Linked DNA regions of Homo sapiens: all the other regions are linked to region 1. Evidence: promoter capture Hi-C in 16 types of primary human blood cells and fetal thymus (Javierre and others, 2016). All regions are on one chromosome and are shown on one strand. The core of a region is centred on a gene start or on the middle of the fragment in contact, and the rest is flanking DNA. Distances in the headings are between cores, read along the strand shown. Region 1 holds the start of RPL29 (ribosomal protein L29). Region 2 overlaps NISCH (nischarin). Region 3 overlaps PHF7 (PHD finger protein 7).

What was found. The method cuts DNA at HindIII sites, captures the fragments that hold promoters and counts their contacts. A CHiCAGO score of 5 or more calls a contact.
Region 2: a fragment that was not itself captured here is called in contact with the fragment with the promoter of RPL29 in region 1 in 1 of 17 cell types (naive B cells); the score reaches 6.0 in naive B cells.
Region 3: a fragment that was not itself captured here is called in contact with the fragment with the promoter of RPL29 in region 1 in 1 of 17 cell types (total B cells); the score reaches 5.4 in total B cells.

The regions. Positions count from the first base shown.
Region 1 is chr3:51,994,351-51,998,542 of GRCh38, reverse strand. RPL29 (ribosomal protein L29) reads left to right here and starts at 2,648. Exons shown (of 4, transcript NM_000992.3): 1 at 2,648-2,686; 2 at 3,074-3,118; 3 at 3,437-3,501. The coding sequence starts at 3,082. RefSeq lists an enhancer at 2,544-2,703. The HindIII fragment of the contact is 1,082 bases long and covers 2,587-3,668 here.
Region 2 is chr3:52,462,331-52,466,522 of GRCh38, reverse strand. The region is part of intron 3 of NISCH (nischarin); the gene reads right to left. Among named protein-coding and RNA genes, the nearest start is that of NISCH, 8.8 kb to the right of the region's middle. The HindIII fragment of the contact is 5,780 bases long and covers 1-4,192 here.
Region 3 is chr3:52,415,333-52,419,524 of GRCh38, reverse strand. The region is part of intron 4 of PHF7 (PHD finger protein 7); the gene reads right to left. Among named protein-coding and RNA genes, the nearest start is that of PHF7, 6.8 kb to the right of the region's middle. The HindIII fragment of the contact is 1,167 bases long and covers 2,223-3,389 here.

The DNA of each region.
Region 1 (4,192 bases), core at 1,399-3,898:
CTCAAAATAAATAAATAAATAAATAAAATAAATAAAAGTAAATAAATAAAGTCATCACTGCCCCCGCTGTCAGCCTCTACCCTGCTGGCTTCTCTTTCTCAAGGATGTGGCAGTCAGACCTCCTCCTCCCTGTCCCAGTCTCCACAGCCACCTCTTCAACTTCCTGAGCTGAAGTCCTGACTTGCTGTCAGGCATCACACCACCCCCACCTCCTGTAGCCCCTGTCTTTGCCCACCAGGTTCTCTACCTGTGCTCAGCACCCCACAGGGACTTTATTCCTGCAGAGACACTCTCCTCTGGGCTCAGCTGTTTCTTTCTTGGCACCAGATCATCCATCAGTATATAAGCCTGCTTTTCATTCTCCCAACTCACACCTGTCAGAATTCTCTCCCCTTTCTCAGGAATGCTTTGGTAATGAGTCATCCACATGTCCTGCCTCCACAACCTCCTTTCCGCTTCACTCCCTAAACCTCTGCAGTATGCGTCTGTCACTCCACGAACCTGGCTTGTCAAGGAACGTTCACTGGGCATGTGTTTATTAAGCTCTTGCTCTATCTACATTATGCTGAGTTAGGCAGTGGGAAAATGAAGGTGATCAAACCAGTCCCAAACTCTGGGCTCCTATGATAATGGACACATACACAACTAAGTAAACAATGCAATTAGAGTCTGGGAAAGTTCTATAAAGAAAGCAAACCATGGCCGGGCACGGTGGCTTACGCCTGTAATCCCAGCACTTTGGGAGGCCGAGGCGGGCAGACCACCTGAGGTCAGGAGTTCAACACCAGCCTGGCCAACATGGTGAAAACCCGTCTCTACTAAAAATAATTCTTTAAAAATTAGCTGGGAGTGGTGGTGTGCGCCCGTAATCCCAGCTACTCAGGAGGCTGAGGCAGGAGAATCGCTTGAACCCGGGAGGCAGAGGTTGCAGTGAGCTGAGATCGCACCACTGCACTCCAGCCTGGGAGACAGAGTGAGACTGTCTAAAAAAAAGAAAAAAAAAAAAAGAATAGAAAAGAAAGGAAACCATGAGAGGACACAGAATCACTGGTGAGATGAGGCAGTGGTTCTCTATTTTAGATAATGGAGTCCAGGGAGGCCTCTATAGGAAAGAGCACACCATCCAAAAAGCAGGGAGAAGGGCAGTCCAGGTGGCTGGGATAGCAAGTGCAAAGGTCCTGAGGCAGAACACACATTTGTGGTTGGCAGGAAAGAAAGGCAATGCGTTTGGAGAGAAGTAAATGACAGAGGTTGTCAGGGTCAAGTGGGTAAAGAATTGATCTTCAATGCAAGGGGATGTCCTTGCAGATTTAAGGGACAGGATCTGATTTGTATCTTAAAACAAGTCCCCAAGCCCCACTGCCGTGTGGAAAATGAACTATAGGGGGAAGAGGTGGAGAAGGCAACAGAGTTGTTAGAGGCAACAATTTCTCAATTCTGATGTCCAACAGGCATCTCACATTTAATGCATCCAACAAAAATATCTGGCTCATCATTCCCCCTCAAAACAAAACAAACAAAGCCCCTGCTCCCCACTCAATCTTCCATCTCTGTAAACAGCCCACCATTCACCCAGTTGTCAAGCCAAAGACATAGGGGCTATCCTTGCCTCCTTTTTCTCCCTCATCTTCTGTGTCCCAAGTCCAGTACTCTTTCTTTGTCCACTCCTCTGCATTCCCACTGTCCTCCCTCAGGTCCAGGCAGCCCTCTCTCCTTCCTCCCCTCTGCTCCTTCTCCACGAAAGAGTCAGGCGTGCTTTTCTTTTTTTTTTTTGAGACAGAGTCTCGCCCTGTAGCCCAGGCTGGAGTGCAATGGTGCGATCTTGGCTCACTGCAACCTCCACCTCCCAGATTCAAGCAATTCTCCTGCCTCAGCCTCCAGAGTAGCTGGGATTACAGGCACGTGCCACCACGCCCCGTGAATTTTTTTTTTTTTTTTTTTTTTTTTTTTGGATTTTTAGTAGAGATGGGGTTTCACCATGTTGTCCAGGCTGGTCTGGAACTCCTGACCTCGTGATCCGCCCACCTCAGCCTCCCAAAGTGCTGGGATTACAGGGGTGCTTTTAAGAACACAGATCGGCCAGGTGCGGTGGCTCACGCCTGTAATCCCAGCACTTTGGGGGACAGAGGCGAGCGGATCGCGAGGTCAGGAGTTCGAGACCAGCCTGGCCAACATGGTGAAACCCCGTCTCTACTAAAAATGTAAAAATTAGCCGGGCGTGGTGGTGGGCGCCTGTAATCCCAGCTACTCGGGAGGCTGAGGCAAGAGAATCGCTTGAAACCGGAAGGCGGAGGTTGCAGTGGGCCGAGATTGTGCCACTGCCCTCCAGCCTCGGTGGAAGAGCGAAACTCCGTCTCAAAAAAAAAAAAAAAGAAAAAGAACACAGATCTTCTTGCCCAACAACATCCCTCAAGGACTCCTTTCTTTTTCAGTATCTTGAATAAGACTTAAGAGACAGGTCCTGGAGAAACAGAGAAGGGAGGAGGCAGCCTGAAGGGGGCGGAGGCAAGCTCGTAGCACCGCCTCCACGTCTGGCTTGCGTTCTTCCGGGCTTCGGAACTTTTCTTCGCGGAGCCTGGGGAAGCTTTTCCAGTAGTACTTTCCGGCGTTGTTGACCCTATTTCCCGTGCTGCACCGCAGCCCCTTTCTCTTCCGGTTCTAGGCGCTTCGGGAGCCGCGGCTTATGGTGAGTGTTGGCCGCGCGGCATCCGATGCCATCCGCGACTTACGGGTGGCGGCGGGGCGCGGGCTGCGGAGAGGACTGGTGACCGACCGTGTGTCTGTCGGGAGCAAAAGCTGCGGGGTGGGAATGGTGCTTCTAGGTCCTAGGAGGGGGATGGCAGGGAAAGCCACTTTATTGGGGAATGCAGCTTTCCGGGGGTAAGGAGTTGATTTCAGGGCATCATTACCTGGGTTTGGGAGGCCAGGACTGGCGTTTGGTCGTGCAGAGTAAGCCGAGACTCGTGGAGGCTGCACATTCTCTGCCTGCAGGCTCATTCTGACCAGAATGGGGGGGGCAGAGGTGGCCCAGCCTGGCGAGCCCTTAACCCTGATCTCCACTTTTGTCTTCCAGGTGCAGACATGGCCAAGTCCAAGAACCACACCACACACAACCAGTGTAAGTTTTTTGGGCCCTGCCTACATCCCAGACCCTGGCAAGGACTGGTTCAGGCAAACTGGGACAGAGATGAAGGGGCACGTTTCCATTGTGGGCCTGAGGCTGATTGATTTCACCCAGTAATAACTTTAGGGTTTATAGGTTTAGAGATCTACTTGAGATACAGAGTGTTTTGCATTTAGTAGTAAGGGTTTCCCATATCTCAAGTGTAGCTGCTGTAGGAAGTGTTGGTTCTCCCAGACTTGCCAGCTGTGATGTTGGGTGGTCTTATTAGAGGAAAGTTCTTTGTTGGCTTAATTCCCTTTTTTTCTCCCACAGCCCGAAAATGGCACAGAAATGGTATCAAGAAACCCCGATCACAAAGATACGAATCTCTTAAGGGGGTGAGTGCACTGAATCACATGGAAGTGTCTTTTCTTGGTTCCAGGTGCACAGTCAAGGCCTCTCATGTAGTTTTTCTCTAGCTTTGGCTTCTGCCTGAGCACAGCCTAACTGGCCCACCCAAAGCCTGCAATTCCTTTTTCTACCCTACCAGACCCATAATAAAGCTTTCCTTGGTCTCCACAGCCTGAAGTGTAACCCTCTGGTCAGGGTGTAACCTGCCTCCTGAGGGCAGTTTGGCTATCTCCCTTGCTTGGCAGTGGCACTTAGGGTAAGGAGTGGCCTTGTCTGAGTGCGTGCAGGGCACATTCCCACACTGACCAGCCTTATGACCTCCATCTGACCCAGTGCTGGAGTTGGGGTCAGCTTCTCTTCCTGTGTCAGGGGGTTCTAAGGATTAGCTGAGAAGGCTGGAGGGTCTAGGGGAGAGCTGAGCATGTCCCCAGTCTGTTCCTTCCCTTTACTTTTGCTCTCTGTTCCGTGGAGTGAATCACAAACTCTGAGCCTCAGTTTCCCCATATCCCACCTTGGCTATAAGTCTTTTGGACCAGACTTGGTATTTAATTGACACCTTCTTCTAAAGAGGGGAGGGGGTGTCCCTGAGGGGATGTCAGGAAAAAACTTGGTCGAACCCCTGCTGTAGGAAGTTGAAGCCCCACAACCTTGGCAGACAGGGCAGCAAAGCAGCTTGTA
Region 2 (4,192 bases), core at 485-2,984, 470 kb before region 1:
CGCGATCTCGGCTCACTACAACCTCCGCCTCCTGGGTTCAAGCAATTCTCCTGCCTGAGTCTCTGGAGTAGCTGGGATTACAGGTGGGTGCCACCATGCCTGGCTAATTTTTTGTATCTTTAGTGAAGAAGGGGTTTCACCATGTTGGCCAGGCTGGTCTTGAACTCCTGACCTTGTGATCCATCTGCCTCAGCCTCCCAAAGTGCTGGGATTACAGGCGTGAGTCACCATGCCCGGCCCTCCTCGTCTCACTTTAATTTATGTTGGTATGAGGCATTCTAGCAGGAGTCAGGCATAATATGTGTGATTCAACTTTAAGCTAAAATTCCCCATTGATGGATTCAAACCTCAGCTTTAACTGAAGAGAGTTGCAAGACTGTAAGTTCAAAAGAAAATCTGTTGTAATTCACAGCCTCAGTACTTTGCAACTAAAACAAATTATGGAAATAAATTGGATGCTAAAGCCAATGCTAAGATTGTAACAGTTCAACATAGCCCCTGATTCCAAATTTTGAAAAGGATCTTTGTTCTAGCCAACTAACTTTAAAAGAAGACAACAATATAAACACCTTTCAAGAGAAATGAATTCCTTTTCTTTCCCGAACCACCTAGTAATGGCTAGCACATGGTCAGCCCTAACCTCAGGCCCAACACTCTTCTAAGCCATTGACCTTCACTGCACAGTCTCTTGCAGGCCTCACAAGGACCCCAGCTCACCAGCCTCCAGCTCACAGGCAGGTTAAATGACTGACTTGGACTAAACCGTTGGGAAGTAGGGGTGGGAGATAAACTCGCCTCTGCCTGCCTCCAAGTCCACCACAGTTGGAGGTCCCGGCCCACATGGTGTGCTAGAATTCCGGATGGGATTCCATTTCACTGAGTTTGGAAACCTCTGTTCCAGGGGTTCTGGGATGAGGCCTGTCACCACGCGTCCAGGAGGGTCAGGACACAGCAATCTGAAGAGCAGCATAGCAACAGGCCAGTGCCACAGTGTGCCCCTCACTCATACAGGCGGCAACCCCTGCGCTCCCACCTAAAGTGGGCTGGTAAACAAGTAGTGCTTTCTTTCCTTGTTATTAAAATCCACACTGCAGGCTGGGTGTGGTGGCTCACGCCTGTAAACCGAGCGCTTTGGGAGGCCGAGGTGGGTGGATCACTTGAGCCCAGGAGTTCGAGACCAGCCTGGGCAACATGGAGAAACCCCATCTCCACAAAAAGTACAAAAATTAGCCAAGTACGGTGGCATATGCCTGTAGTCCCAGCTACTTGGGGGGTTGAGGTGGGAGGAGTGCTTGAGCCTGGGAGGTTGAGGCTGCAGTGAGCCGAGATGGTGCCACTGCACTCCAGCCTAGGCAATAGAGCAAGACCCTGTCTCAAAAAACAAACAAAATCCATACAGGAATATATTGTTATAAATCTTTGTGACCTTGGATTGGGCAATGGTTTCTCATGTATGATACCAAAACACAAGTGACCAAAGAAATTGATAAATTGAACTTAATCAAAATCTAAATCTTTTGTGCTTCAATGAAGACCATCAAGAAAATGAAAAGATGGCCGGGCATGGTGGCTTACGCCTGTTATCCCATCAATTTGGGAGGCTGAGGCAGGTGGATCACCTAAGGTCAGGAGTTCGAGACCAGCCTGGCCAACATAGTAAAACCCTGTCTCTACTAAAAATAGAAAAATTAGCTGGGCAGGCCGGATGTGGTGGCTCAGGCTGTAATGCCGGCACTTTGGGAGGCTGAGACAGGTGTATCACCTAAGGTCAGGAGTTCAAGACCAGCCTGGCCAACATGGTAAAACCCCATCTCTACTAAAAATACAAAAATCAGCCAGACGTGGTTGCGTACGCCTGTAGTCCCAGCTACTTGGGAGGCCGAGGCACGAGAATCGCTTGAACCCCAGGGGTGGAGGTTGCAGTGAGTCGAGATCACGCCACTATACTCCAGCTTGGGCAACAGAGCAAGAATCTGTCTCAAAAAAAAAAAAAAAAAAAAAAAAAGACAACTCACAGAATGTGAAAAAGTATTTGCATGTTTCTAAAAGTCTAGTAGCCAGAATATATAAAGAACTCTTACAACTCAACAACAAAGATAATCTGTTTTTTTTGTTTTTTTTGTTTTTTTAGACAGTCTTACTCTGTCACCCAGGCTGGAGTGCAGTGGTGTGGTCTCACTCATTGCAATCTTCGCCTCTCAGATTTAAGCCATTCTTGTGCGTCAGCCTCCCGAGGAGCTGAGATTACAGGCACACACCACCATGCCCGGCTAATTTCTGTATTTTTAGTAGAGACAGGGTTTCTCCATGTTGGCCAGGCTGGTCTCGAACTCCAGGCCTCAAGTGATCCGCCCACCTCAGCCTTCCAAAGTGCTGGGATTACAGGCATGAGCCACCCGCGCCCGGCCCAATCTGATTTTTAAAAAGACAAAGAATTGGATACTTTTCTCCAAAGAAAATACACAAATGGCCAAATATCATATGAAAAGAGGCTCAGGCCAGGTGTGGTGGCTCACACCTGTAATCTCAGCACTTTGGGAGGCCAAGGTGGGCGAATCACTTGAGGCCAGAAGTTCGAGACCATCCTGGCCGACATGGTGAAACCCCGTCTCTAATGAAAAAAATACAAAAATTAGCCAGGCGTGGTGGTGCACGCCTGTAGTCCCAGCTACTCGGGAGGCTGAGGCACGAGAATCGCTTGAACCCAGGAGACAGAGGTTGCAGTGAGCCGGGATCACATGCCTGCACCCCAGCCTGTGCGACAGAGCGAGACTCTGTCTCAGAAAAAAAAAAAAAAAAAAAAAAAAAGAGGTTCAATAACATTAGTCATTAGGGAAATGTAAATTAAAACCACAATGAGATACCACTTCACACCCACCAGAACAACTAAGATTTAAAAAAAAATGGACAAGAAGTGTTAAGCAAGAATGTGGGGAAATTAGAACCTATACACTGCCGATGGAAACGTCAAATGGTGCAACAACTGTGGAGAACAATTTGTTAGTTTCTCAAAAAGTCAAACATAGTTACCATATAACTCAGGTTCCACTTTTGGCTATATATCCAACAAAAATGAAAACATAAGTTCACACAAAAATTAACATACAAATGCTCATAGCAGCATCATTTGCAATGGCCAAAAATGGAAACAAACCTAACATCCATCAACTGCTAATAAATAAACATAATGTGGCATATCCAAATAATACACTATTACTCCGTCATAAAAGGACCAATGGATTCATGCTACAATATGAACGGACCTTGAAAAGATAAGGCTAAATGAAAGAAGCCAGTCACAAAAGGCCACACACTGTATGATTCTATTTATATGAAATGTCCAGAACAGGCAAATCCATAAGGACAGAAAGTAGATTAGTGACTGCCAGGGGCTGGGGGACAGAGGGATGGGAAGCTCCTGCTAACAGGTACAGGTTCCTTTTTGGGCTGATGAAATGTTCTGGAATTAGATAGTGGTGATGGTCGCTCAACTTTGTGAATATACTAAAAACTACTGAATTGTACACATTAAAAAGTTAATTTTATGGTATGTAAATTATATCTCAATTTTTAAAAATCCACACCATGGCCAGGCGTGGTGGCTCATGCCTGTAATCCCAGCACTTTGGGAGGCTGAGGCAGGTGGATCACGAGGTCAAGCGTTTGAGACCAGCCTCACCAACATAGTGAAACCCCGTCTCTACTAAAAATACAAAAAATTAGCTGGGTGTGGTGGCGGGCCATCTGTAATCCCAGCTACTCGGGAGGCTGAGGCAGGAGAATCACTTGAACCTGGGAGGTGGAGGTTGCAGTGAGCCGAGATCGTACCACTGCACTCCAGCCTGGCCAGTAAGAACGAAACTCCGTCTCAAAAAATAAAAATAAAAAAATTCACACCATAGCCAAATAGGGTTCCCTGGGTCCACCCTATCCAATGTCAGCAACACAAGAGGCAGAACACATGTGGAACAATTTCAGAGAGGATACAGACAGTATAAAAGTTAAGAGAAACATTCCCCAGAGAGCTCCCAGCCTGGAGAAAAGGCTGACAAATCTTTAGGCCCCAAATGAAGATCTAATCCAGTGGTTTTCAAGTGGGGGGCAATTTTGCCCCCCAGTGGGACATTTGGCAATGTCTGGAGACATCTTTAGTTGCCATAGCTGGGTGGGGAAGTGCTACTGGCATCCAGTG
Region 3 (4,192 bases), core at 1,557-4,056, 420 kb before region 1:
CGAGAGGGTGGAGCTTGCAGTGAGCCGAGATCGTGCCACTGCACTCCAGCCTGGGCCACAGAACAAGACTCTGTCTCAAAAAAGAAAAAAAAAAAGAACAGAGCTTGGTGGAATATATATGCATTGACAGGGTAATTTATTTAATGAAGGCTTACATGGCACCAACCATGTGTTGAATACTCTAAGTGGTTTCAAATATTAACTCATTGAGTCCTCCCAACAGCCCTAGGAGGTAGGTACTATTATTGTCCTCATTTTATAGGAGAGATGATGCGACCTGCTCAAGGCCACAGAACTCTGGAACCTGGACTCTTACTTTTGCTCTAGGCTGCCTCTCACTTACTGAGGGCTGCTATTGTGTGCTGGGACTTTGGGGGAAACATTTCCTTTGTATTTACTCATTTTATGCTTACAATCCTTGGCCAGGCACGGTGGCTCACACCTGTAATCCTAGCACTTTGGGAAGCCGAGGAGGGCTGACCATCTGAGGTCAGGAGTTCGAGACCAGCCTGGCCAACATGGTGAAACCCTGTCTCTACTAAAAATACAAAAACTAGGGCATGGTGGTGCGCGCCTGTAATCCCAGCTACTCGGGAGGCTGAGGCAGGAGAATCGCTTGAACCCGGGAGGCGGAGGTTGAAGTGAGCCAAGATCAGGCCACTGCACTCTAGCCTGGGCGACAGAGCAAGACTCCGTCTCAAAAAAAAAAAAAAAAATTCCTGTAATGGCAGATGCTATTATGATGCTCATCTTACAGAGGAGGCCGCTGAGGTGCAGTGTGGCAAGTGACACTGCCTCCCAGGGTTATAGGACAAGGAGGAGCAGAGCTGGCTATTCACACCCAGGCCCATGGAATCCCCATTCTTACCCTTCCTGCTGCATCACCTCTTAGTACAGAGAAAATACTCTTCTCAGAGTAATACAGGAAGAAAAACAGGGTTTTAATATCTCTTGATTGTTGTTGTTCTGTATTATGGGGGAAGGAATTGAACTTTTGAAACACATATTTTAAAACTAATTATCTCAGGGCTTTGGGATGAGTGATTTGTTTTCTTCATATTTTTAAGTATCATTCATGTTTTCTGCAATAAGCATGTATTGATTTAATAAATTAGCTACTAAAAAGAAAAAACTATATCTATATGTTCTATACAGAAAGATTTCCAAAATATATATGATGGAAAAAAGCCAAGATACAAAGCACTCTGTATAATGTTTAATTTTTATGTAAAAAATGTATATGCTTGTAAATACATCAAAATTATAACTAAGCCCTGACACCTGATAGGACTTACAAGAAAGGAAAATCACAGACCAATCTTTCTCATGAGCACAGATATAAAAATCAAAACAGATGCAAACTGAATCCAGCACCATATAAAAAGGACAATACATCATGACCAAGTAGAGTTTATACCAAGAATGCAAGACTAGTTTAACATTAGAGCATTTAGTTGATGTAACAAACTACATTAACAAAATTAAAGAGAAAAATCAAGATAATCTCAATAAATACAGGAAAAGTGAGAAAATTCAACACCCATTCATGATACTCTGGGCAAACTATATATGAATAAAAGGGATCTTCAACCTGATAAAAACATCTATGAAAAAAACCTAGAGCTAACATACTTTAATAGTGAAAAACTAGATGCTGTCCCCTGATGTTGGGAACAAGACAAGGATAACAACTCACACCACTTCTATTCAATGTTAGGTTAAAGGTCCTAGCCAATACAACAAGGCAAGAAGAAATAAAAGGCAAAGATTGAGAGAAAGAAGTAGAACTGTCTTTATTCACACATGACATGGTTATGTGCATAGGGAATCCTGTAACAAGGCATTTACAACAAAATAAAAAAACAACTAATCAAACTCAATTTAACAAGATTACAGGATACAAATCAATATACAAAAATAAAATGCATTTCTATATACCAGCAATAAACTTAAAAATGAAATAAAAATACTATTTACAATAGCATAACCACAGAATATTTAGGAATACATTTAACAAAAGATGTACAAGACTTTGTCACCAAAACAACAAAACATTGCTGAGATATATTTTAAAAGACCCAAATAAGTGGAAAAATATACCATGTCCATGGATTGGAAGGTTCAATATTTTTTGTCAATTCTTCCCAAATTGACCTATAAATTCAATGCAATCCCAATCACAATCCCAGTAGACTTTTTTTTTAAAGAAAAATTGACAAGCTTAATATAAACTTTATAAAGAAAGGACCTGATAGTCAAAACAATCTTGGAAAAGATTGTAGAACTTAACAATACTGAATTTCAATATACTATAAAGCCACAATAATCAAGACAGTGGGGACTTGTGTAAGAATAGATACATAGATCAATGACATAAATAGATTATCCAGATCCACAGATATATGGTCAATTGATTTTGACAAAGGCACCAAGGCAATTCTATGGGTAGGTAAAGATTTCTTGCAACACACAAAAAGCACTGACCATAAAAGAAAAAAATGGATAAACTGGGCTCCATTACAATTACAAACTTGTTCTTTGAAAGACACCATTAAGAAAATGAAAAGGCAAGCCAAAGACTAGGAAGAAAATAGTCTCAATACATATATTTGAAAAAGAATTTGTATCTGAAATATATAAGCAATTCCTACAACTCAATAATAAAACCACTCAATTTTTTTTTTTTTTTTTTGAGACGGAGTCTTGCACTGTCGCCCAGGCTGGAGTGCAGTGGCGTGATCTCGGCTCACTGCAAGCTCCACTTCCTGGGTTCACGCCATTCTCCTGCCTCAGCCTCCCGAGTAGCTGGGACTACAGGCGCCTGCCACCATGCCCGGCTAATTTTTTTATTTTTAGTAGACACAGGGTTTCACCGTGTTAGCCAGGATGGTCTCCATCTCCTGACCTCTTGATCTGCTCGCCTCGGCCTCCCAAAGTTCTGGGATTACAGGCGTGAGCCACTGTGCCCGACCACCACTCAGTGTTTTTAAATGGGTAAAAATATTTGTACAGATACTTAACAAACGAAAATATGTGGGCCGGGCCAGGCGCGGTGGCTCACGCCTGTAATCCCAGCACTTTGGGAGGCCGAGGTGGGCAGATCACGAGGTCAAGAGATCGAGACCATCCTGGCTAACACGGTGAAACCCTGTCTCTACTAAAAATATAAAAATTAGCCATGCGTGGTGACAGGCACCTGTAGTCCCAGCTACTTGGGAGGCTGATGCAGGAGAATTGCTCCAACCCGGGAGGTGGAGGCTGCAGTGAGCCAAGATCATACCACTGCACTCCAGCCTGGGCGACAGAGCGAGACTCCATCTCAAAAAAAAAAAAAAACCAAAAAACCAAAGAAAATATGTGAATGGCCAATATGCACATGAAAAGAAGCTTTAGTCATCAGAAAAATGGAAATTAAAACGACAATGAAATACCAATACACACCCAGTAGAATGGCTAAAATTAAGAACACTGACAAAACAAAGTTCCGGCAAGAATACTGTGCAACTGGACTTCTTATAAATTGCTGGTAGGAGTGTAAGCTGGTACAACCGCTTTGGACAGTGATGTGGCAACCTCACATAAAGTTAAATATCTAATTAGCATACAACTAGTAATTCCACTTCTAGGCATCTGCACAAGAGAAGTGAAAGCACATGTTCACAAAGAGACTTGTACATGAATGCTTAAAGTAGCTTTATTCATAATAGTCCTCAAATGGAAACAATTCAGATGTTCATCAACAGGTGAACAGATAAGCAAATAGTAACTTATTCATGCAACCGAATACTACCAAGTAATAAAAAGGCACAAGCTATGAATGCATGCAACAACATGGATGAATCTCCAAAACACTGTGTTGGGAGAAAAAAGCCAGATACAGAAGATTATAAACTATATGATTTCACTTATATGAAGTAAAAGAATAGCCAAAAATAATCCATAGATCAGAACAGTGATTACGTCTAGTGGGATTGACTGGAAAAGGAGGCAGGAGGGAACTTTCTGGGGTGATGAAAATATTACCTATTTTGATTGGGGTGGTGGTTATTTGGGGACATACATTTATCAAAACTTATCAAACTGGACCCTTAAAATTAGTGAATTTTGTTCAAGACCAGCCTGGCTAACACGGTGAAACCTGTCTCTACTAAAAATACAAAATTAGCCAGGCATGGTGGTAGGTGTCTGTAAT